Regions from separate parts of the Homo sapiens genome. Here all the other regions are linked to region 3. The links are contacts of gene promoters, found by promoter capture Hi-C in human tissues and cell types (Jung and others, 2019). All regions are on one chromosome and are shown on one strand. Each heading gives the region's core, a stretch centred on a gene start or on the middle of the fragment in contact. The rest is flanking DNA. Distances are from core to core; before and after follow the strand shown. Region 1 overlaps IFNAR2-IL10RB (IFNAR2-IL10RB readthrough). Region 2 has its middle 8.8 kb from the start of IFNAR1. Region 3 holds the start of DNAJC28 (DnaJ heat shock protein family (Hsp40) member C28).

The links. The method cuts DNA at HindIII sites, captures the fragments that hold promoters and counts their contacts. A contact is called where the count stands out against the background at its distance.
Region 1: a contact is called between a fragment that was not itself captured here and the fragment with the promoter of DNAJC28 in region 3, in 2 of the 25 tissues and cell types used here (IMR-90 fibroblasts and lymphoblastoid cells).
Region 2: a fragment that was not itself captured here is called in contact with the fragment with the promoter of DNAJC28 in region 3 in 2 of the 25 tissues and cell types used here (dorsolateral prefrontal cortex and mesendoderm cells).

Annotation. Positions count from the first base shown.
Region 1 is chr21:33,290,314-33,293,013 of GRCh38, forward strand. The region is part of intron 12 of IFNAR2-IL10RB (IFNAR2-IL10RB readthrough); the gene reads left to right. All of the region lies in intron 6 of IL10RB (interleukin 10 receptor subunit beta), which reads left to right. Among named protein-coding and RNA genes, the nearest start is that of IL10RB, 25 kb to the left of the region's middle. The HindIII fragment of the contact is 8,664 bases long and covers 1-2,700 here.
Region 2 is chr21:33,314,869-33,317,568 of GRCh38, forward strand. No RefSeq gene overlaps it. Among named protein-coding and RNA genes, the nearest start is that of IFNAR1, 8.8 kb to the right of the region's middle. The HindIII fragment of the contact is 3,971 bases long and covers 1-2,700 here.
Region 3 is chr21:33,490,306-33,493,005 of GRCh38, forward strand. It overlaps DNAJC28 (DnaJ heat shock protein family (Hsp40) member C28), which reads right to left and starts at 1,411. Exons shown (of 2, transcript NM_001040192.3): 1 at 1,297-1,411. The HindIII fragment of the contact is 10,582 bases long and covers 1-2,700 here.

The sequences.
Region 1 (2,700 bases), core at 183-2,682, 200 kb before region 3:
ATATATATATTTGAGGTTCTGTTGGCAAGAAATAAAAATCAAAATTATGTAGTCACTTATATAACCACTTAAATATAATCATTTAAAAATCCGAAAGCCATGTGAAAAAACAAGTGGTAGGCCGGATCTGCCCCGTGGGCCTTTGTTTGCTGGCCCTGCCCTAGACCCACAGAGCCTCAAATCACAAGGCCAGGGAGCAGCGGTTTCCCCAGTAGGTCACTGGGCATGATGAGGGTGAACAGGGCCACTCCTGCCCTGCGCTTGCTTCCTGACGCAGGTGTTCCACCTGCTGGGGACACAGCCCCACATGATTGTTGGTCTTGGGTGCATGCCAGGGGCTGGAGGACAATGCCTTGCCCTCACCAGGTGTCATCTCCAAGCTGGCGCCTCCCCTGCACTTTCAACAGGCCGCTCCGTCCTTCTTCCAGTCTGGCAGCTGCTGGGTGGTGCAGGGTGGGATACGACCAGGGGGGTCCCGCCTTCACTGTCAGTGGGCCCATTGGTCTGGCACCATGTGATACGGCGTCTCTACTAGTTTGTCGGGGCTGCTGTAGCAAAGTAGCACTCGTTGCGCAGCTGTAACAACGGGAATTGATTCTCTCACGGTTCTCGAGGCCAGACGTCCAAAATCAAGGTGTCACTAGGATGGTTTCCTTGGAGGCTGTGAGGGAGGATCTGTCCCAGGCCTCTACCCTAACTTCTGAGGGTTGCTGGCGATCTTTGGCGTTCCTTGGCTTCTAGAGGCATCACCCAGTCTCTGCCTTGATCTTCACAAGCCTTCTCCCTATGTGAGTGTCTGTGTCCACATTGCCCCTCCTTTATACAGACACCAGTCACGGGAGGAGGGCTCACCCTGCTCCACTATACCCTCATTCTAACTTAACTGATCCCCTCTGCAGCAACCCTATCTCCAAATACAGTCACATTCTGAGGTAGAGGGATTAGGACATATGAATTTCTTTTTTTTTTGGAGACGGAGTCTCACTCTGTCACCCAGGCTGGAGTGGAGTGGCATGATTTCGGCTCAGTGCAAGCTCCGCCTCCTGGGTTCAAGTGATTCTCCTGCCTCAGCCTCCCAAGTAGCTGGGATTACAGGTGCCCTCCACCACGCCCGGCTAATTTTTGTGTTTTTAGTAGAGACAGGGTTTCCCCATGTTGGCCAGGCTGGTCTCAAACTCCTGACCTCAAGTGATCTGCCCGCCCTGGCCTCCCAAAGTGCTGGGATTACAGGCGTGAGCCACAGCGCCTGGCCCAGAACATGAATTTTGTAGGAACAGAATTCAACACCTAACAGGATCCTCTACCAGGAGAGAAAACACCTGTGAAACCTTGGGAATCCTGACAGGCCCTGCAGGACACGAACAGCAAATCACTCCTAAACTAAAGGTTAGCTCCAGCCAGGATGCACCACTGCCCCTTCCAGAGTGGTGCAAGAGTCGACGTCATCAGCTTGCTACCAGGTGGCTGGTCAGTCTCCTCGGGGAATGCCGTCATATCAGGGGCTCAGCATTGATCTCTGTCGCAGGCAGGTTGGACATTCCACAGCAGTGGTGGCTACCCAGCCGTGGGAGTGGGAGCCCCTTCTTTCAGGCCCACGCGCAGCCTCCATCCCTGCCACCACGGCTGCTGTGTTCATGAGCCCTGTGCCATGTACAGGTGACCAGTGGCAGAGGCTGGCTGACATCCACTGGCTGTGTCATCATGTCTCCCTGGCTGTCTGCTGTCTATGATACATGCTCTCAGTGGGAGTTAATATGGGATGCAGAAATCTCCACGCTCCAGCTACTCCCTCAGGTCCATCCTTCTTCCCAAACGTCCTTGTCCCTAACCTTCCAGTCTTCCTTCCCCAGGGCCCCTGACCACCAGGCTTGTCACTAACCCCTGCCTGGGATCCCACAGCTGGCCTGATCTTGGGCTGCTTTTCTTTCCACATAAAGGTGATGATCAGACCCACGGCCCAAAGCTCTGCCCGTGGGGACACTTTCTCCCTGGTTGGGGCTGAAGTGCAGCAGCGGGCCACTTTCGGTGTGTGCCCACATACCATGCTAACCTTGCCATGAAACCAGGCCGGCCTTTCCTCCTACTTCTGCTAGGCATAATTACCCATCCCCCTTTATGGTCATCATGTGAGCAGACACAGACACGGTGCGACAGGGGTAGAGGGGACAGGAGTCCGAGCCACCTGCATGTGGCCAACATGCACCCTCTGACCCCATCTCAGGACCTACTGGGTCTCAGGCCTCATGATGGTCACTTCTGGGCAGCACCATCACCTCGCGTCCCTCGTCAGAAGCTCTGTCTCTGCCGGGACCCCATAGCGTCCCAGGAGCTGCTTTTTCAAACAGAGTACAATTATCTGCTGCAGATGGCCCCGCCTGACCCCAGAACTCTCGTATCTATGTTGTGACTTTCCTCTTGGGATTTGCCATAAACTCCACCCAGCATCTTTTCCCACCCCAGACACTTCAAGGATATGCGAAGTCACACATTCCCCAGGTTGGATTCACAGGCCGTCCCTGGTGGGTAATGTACCAGTCCTGAGGTGTGCATAGGGCTGCAGGCTGCACGGCCCATACCTTCTGCAGGGCCCTTTCCTGCCTGGGGCCCCTCCGTGCCAGCAGCCTCCTGTGTGGTTTGATAAACATATTGGAACAGTCAGTATTCCTAGGCGTGGAACATGCTGCCTCCAGAACCCTGAGG
Region 2 (2,700 bases), core at 64-2,563, 180 kb before region 3:
ATAGATCTGAATACTAGAAATTAGCTGATGATCTGGGTGAGAAGAGAATAAGCAAAACGGGACAGAAAGATAAGCTCAGTGGGCTGAGGAATACATAAGTGAGAAAACAAAGATAGTTGTGGACAAATGTAGACAGATTTGGCTACGAATAATAACAGGAAGGACGGCTTCTGGAGTGAAAGCAGCATATACGCCTTTTTAAATTGGGAGAGACTTGAGAATGTGTAACTGTTAACAAGAAGAAACTAAAGAGAGGAGATAAAGTCATGAAAAAACGTAAAAATAATCAACGGATAGCCATCCCTATGAAGGGGTGGCTCACGGAACCAGACAGAGAGATTTTCATTTGACTGAAAGAAGGATGTCTTCCCAACGACAGGGAAAGACAGAATGGAAGCAGGTGCAGGTGAGTTTGAAGTTTTGGTGATGGAGAGCTGAAACCTGATCTGTTGACTGTATTTTCCAAGAAACTAGGAGCTGGGTGGAGGAACATCTGTTGAAAATGAGAAGAAAAGCTGTAGGGTAGAGATGTGAAGTAAGTGTAGGTTTTTAATTTCAGCTCAATTGAGGTTGCAGACTATGAAGTTTTGATCATTGGGGCTATTTGATCCTTCAGGTTTTCTCCAGAAAAACTAGATCTTCCCTCTGAGCCCTCCTGAAGTAGGAAAAACAGTAACCACGATGGTCAGAAAAAAATAACCAAAATTACTGAGCACACTGTGCCAGACACTAAACTAAGCTCTTGGTGTGCATTAACTGATTAAAAATTCATCACACCACTATGATATAGATATTATTATAGTCCCCATGAGGAAGCAGGAAAAAAGATTAAGTAACTTGCCCAAGATCCCAGAGTGACGGAGGTGGGATAGCAACCTAAGTCAACTTCAGAACTCAGACTCTTAACCAGTAGGCCAGTCTCTGTTTAAGAGATACTTAGTTACCACTTGAAAAGGCGTATGGCTGTCTTCCATGTTACTGCTTAAAAACAGACATCTTTCTCAGTATGCAGTGAGCATGCAGCCACACTCAATCTTTCCTCAAGCCATGTGAACACAGACTAGACCTTCAAATATGCTGTTCCCTTTATTTAGAATGCTGTATCCCTCTTCTTTTCCTATCTCCTACTTATACTCTGCCTCCCCTTAAACATCTCTTACTGCAGGTCACCTGCTGCAATGTGTATCCCTCACCACTAAACTAGTTTAGTGTTCCCACCGTTTGCTTCATCATCATCATTATTACTATTTTGAAATAGCATCTCACTCTGTCACCCAGGCTGGAGTGCAGTGGTGTGATCACGGCTCATTGTAGCCTTGACTTCCTGGAGTTCAAGCGATTCTCCAGGCTCAGCCTCCTGAGTAGCTAGGACCACAGGCCTCTGCCACCTCATCCAACTAATTGTATTTTTTGCAGATATGGGGGTCTCTCTTTGTTGTCCAGGCTGGTCTCAAACTCCTGGGCTCAAGTGATCCTCTTGCTGCAGCCTCTCAAAATGCTGGGATTACAGGTGTGAGCCACTGTGCCAGCTTCACTACTATCTTTTACTGAATTGCCTGCCTACTGGGATGAGGAAATGTATAGGATGATAAAGCACCAAGGAGAAAGACATTCTGGAGATTCCAGAGTAGAACGGCTCAGATTCCTTCCTGAACATCCTGGAGCTAGTGTTTGTACACCCTCAAAGTCTGTGCCACTGGGCTGCTACTCAGCTAGGACTCTTCTCCTTTCATCTACCAAACTCTCCTCCCAGAAAGAAGTGAATTTATTCTTCTGGAAGGTTCTAAAGCAGTGATTTCTAATCCAGGGTGCACCCACCCTAGGGGTTTGCGTTGGATTACAGGGTCCACCGAAGTGCAGTGAAATTCTATTTACATTCTTTAATAAGAAATAAATTAAGCTTTTGATATTTGATATATAACCTAGCACAAGCACCTTCACTTGGTCCAAATGCCAGAGCATCACATTGTCACATTCAGTGATGTGTGACACACTTGAGAACAGAGTGAGAAACTCACAAGGTGGAAATGCGCAGCGATGCTTCTGCTTGTACACTTTTGGAGTTTGTGATTATGTCTAACCATTTACTTGGCTTGATGTGTGTTTACAGGTCGTTAGCTAGTTTTAACTAAATTAATGCTCACAAAATGGATGTGACAAGATTCTTGCAAATAAATTGGAAATTAAAGATAGTACTATTAATACACAAGTGAATAAGATAACAGCAGCCTTGACATATTAGCTAATCACAGTATGAAGCCATCACATTAGGAAGACATTTTCCAGAAAAGCAAACCCCCACAATTTCTTTCCAAGAGTGTTTAAAGTCATATGATACTCATTCGTTTTGGTTCTTTACAAAATTTCGTAATTGGTGACAGTGTTTAGAAACTGCTTTGGGGGTTCTTAATAGCAAAAGACAAAAAGCCACATGCCCCTTGTTCTTCTTTCTACAATATGACAAACTAAAATACATTCCTCAGTCAGCAATAGTGTTGGACTGTGTATAGCAAATACGGCTGACAATGCGAAGAAACAAGAGTTCAATTTCACAGTGTGGGAAATCTGCCACGTAATCATATGGAAACATGCTCTAAAGCACAGATGTTTCTAACATGTCTTTTTCCAAAAGTGAAATACCCAAGGAACGACTTTTTCTTTGTTAGCCAAAAAGGGAAAGATAAAATATATACTCAACAG
Region 3 (2,700 bases), core at 161-2,660:
ACCGTGTTAGCCAGGATGGTCTCGATCTCCTGACCCTGTGATCTGCCCGCCTCGACCTCCCAAAGTGCTGGGATTACAGGCGTGAGCCACCGCACCCAGCCCCACCAGCTGCATTCTTATAGCTATATTTCACTGATGTGGGCAGAAAAGTGGAAGCTGATGAAGTTTAGTGTTAACATATTGTGGGGCCAGGCACGGTGGCACACGCCTGTAATCCCAGTACTTTAGGAGGCCGAGGTGGGTGGATCACCTGAGGTCAGGAGTTCGAGATCAGCCTGGCTAACATGGCAAAACCCTGTCTCTACTAAAAATACAAAAATTAACTGGAGGTTGCAGTCCCAGCTACTCGGGAGGCTGAGGCAAGAGAATCGCTTGAACCCGGGAGGTGGAGGTTGCAGTGAACCGAGATCGTGCCACTGCACTCCAGCCTGGGCAACAGAGTGAGACTCTGTCTCAAAAAAATATAGATAGATAGAATCTGGATTCTACCCCTCACTAACTAACCGTATATTTTACAAGTGGAAAGTTCTTAGAGATCATCTAATCCAATCTTCTCATTTAATGAGAAAACGTAGGTCCGGAAGGTTAAGCAATTTAACCAAGTCCCATAACAAGGTGTAAGCAAAATGGTTAGGGGTGGGCACAGTAAAAAAGGAGGCTTGCTTAACTGTCTATACCTCCAGCCGATTATAAACTGCACGAGAGTCTGCATCATCTCAAGAAGTCTTCTCATAAGACGACTTATGGACAAGGTACGTACCTGGTCTGATACTGGATTGAATAGAATCAAGTGTCCAAAAGACTTTAAGCTCCACAGCTCGCTAGGAAGGAGCTATCTGCCAGAGGCCAGAAAAACCATGATGAATTGTGAGGCCTCCCAACACGTTTGCTGCTATTGCAATAACATGGTCTCGAAGAGGAGGAAGACTTGTACACTGACAATGGCCAAAAAATACTGGAAGTGGCTTAATTGGAATTGGGATATATAAACGCTAAAACGGAGCTCCTGAGACCCCCTATTTTCTAGGCAATCGGTGCCAACGGTCTGGGAGCCGGCTGCGAAGGTGGTTATCATGGCAAGGGAGGTCGGTCCTGCCCCGCCCCCTCCTCACCTGCGCAGACCTGGGGTAGGGGTTCCGCGGCTCCCGCCCCCCTGCCGCGCCTCTGCGCATGCGTGCGCGGTCCGCCCTTCACTGCGGGTGTCCCTCCCACCGCCTCCAGCTGGTGCCTCCGCCGGGCTAGACCATTTGCCACTTTACACTGAGGGGCTCGGGGGTACGGAAGGCAGAATCGTACCTGATTGGGACAGGTGACCTTACCAGGAAAACGGACAATCTTCCGCCAAACGAACTTTACCCCGGAGGACCCAGGCAGGGCACCTCGGGAGCCTTCGTCCCGACCGGGGACCACCAGCTCCACCTCCGTCCCCGCCCCGAGCGGAGGTGGTCCGGCCGATTGGGATTGTGGGAGATGTAGTTCGCTAGAAGGGGCGATGTGCGCCTGCGCCTCTCGGGAGGGACTTAGGGGGCGTCGAAAATGATGTAAAGACCGAGTTGGCGGCGTGGGGAGTTGTGGCTCGGAGGGCGAGGGTAACTTTCTGGGGGCAGGGGAAGGCAAGGCTGTTTCCCCGGAACGGGACCGGAACAGGTTTATTCGGGGTCACAGAAGGAGTCACCTGCGCAGATACATGAGGCTTAAAACCTGCCCTTTTATTAATTCAAGTACTGTTGAGGGGCTGGCGACAGGCCAGAGGACAAAATCAAAATAGGGATCTTCTGGCTTGGAGTTCAACCACTGACGTGGGGACTGAGCATTTCCCCTCTCTGTACAGGAAGCAAGTTTTTTAACAAGGAAAAAGAAAAAGGATAAAAAGAAAAAGGCAGAGGCTTGGGAGTTTTCAGATCTGGGTTGAAAATCCTGTTTCTTCTGCTTGCACCTTAGGCAAGATACCTGCAAAATGAGAGTTGCAATAAATAGTAAACTATAGTAAATAGTATGCCATTGTGCTAAGTGCTTTATGTATATTCTCATTTACTTTTTTTTTTTTTTTTTTGAGACAGAGTCTCGCTCTGTCGCCCAGGCTGGAGTGTGGTGGCGCGATCTCGGCTCGCTGCAACCTCCACCTCCCGGGTTTAAGCTATTCTCCTGCCTCAGCCTCCCGAGTAGCTGGAATTACAGGCGCGCACCACCATGCCCAGCTAATTTTTTTGTATTTTTAGTGGAGACCAGGTTTCACCATGTTGGCCAGGCTGGTCTCGAACCCCTGAGCTAAGGTGATCTGCCTGCCTCGGCCTTTCAAAGTGCTGGGATTACAGGCATTCATTTAATCTTTACAACAGCCCTCTGAGATAAATGCTGTTATTTTCCCTATTTTACATATAATGAAATAATAATTGTATCAACTTCATTGACTTTTTTAGGGGGAGAATTACACAATGTATGTAAACCACTTGGCACTGTGCCTCGCACATTAAGCAATATTTTTTGTTATGACTGTGTCTCCTAAAAGGAGCCAGAAATAGGTATTAGCCTCCTCAGCTTCTACATCATAAACATTAGAATCATTTATTGCCATCTATGTAGGAACACAGAAAAAGATACAGTATAAACTCTGATTCTGAGGGCTTTAGTTATAAGCAAACAATCAACAAAATAACTCATGTGAAAGAAAATAGGATTTCTGGCCGGGCGCGGTGCTCA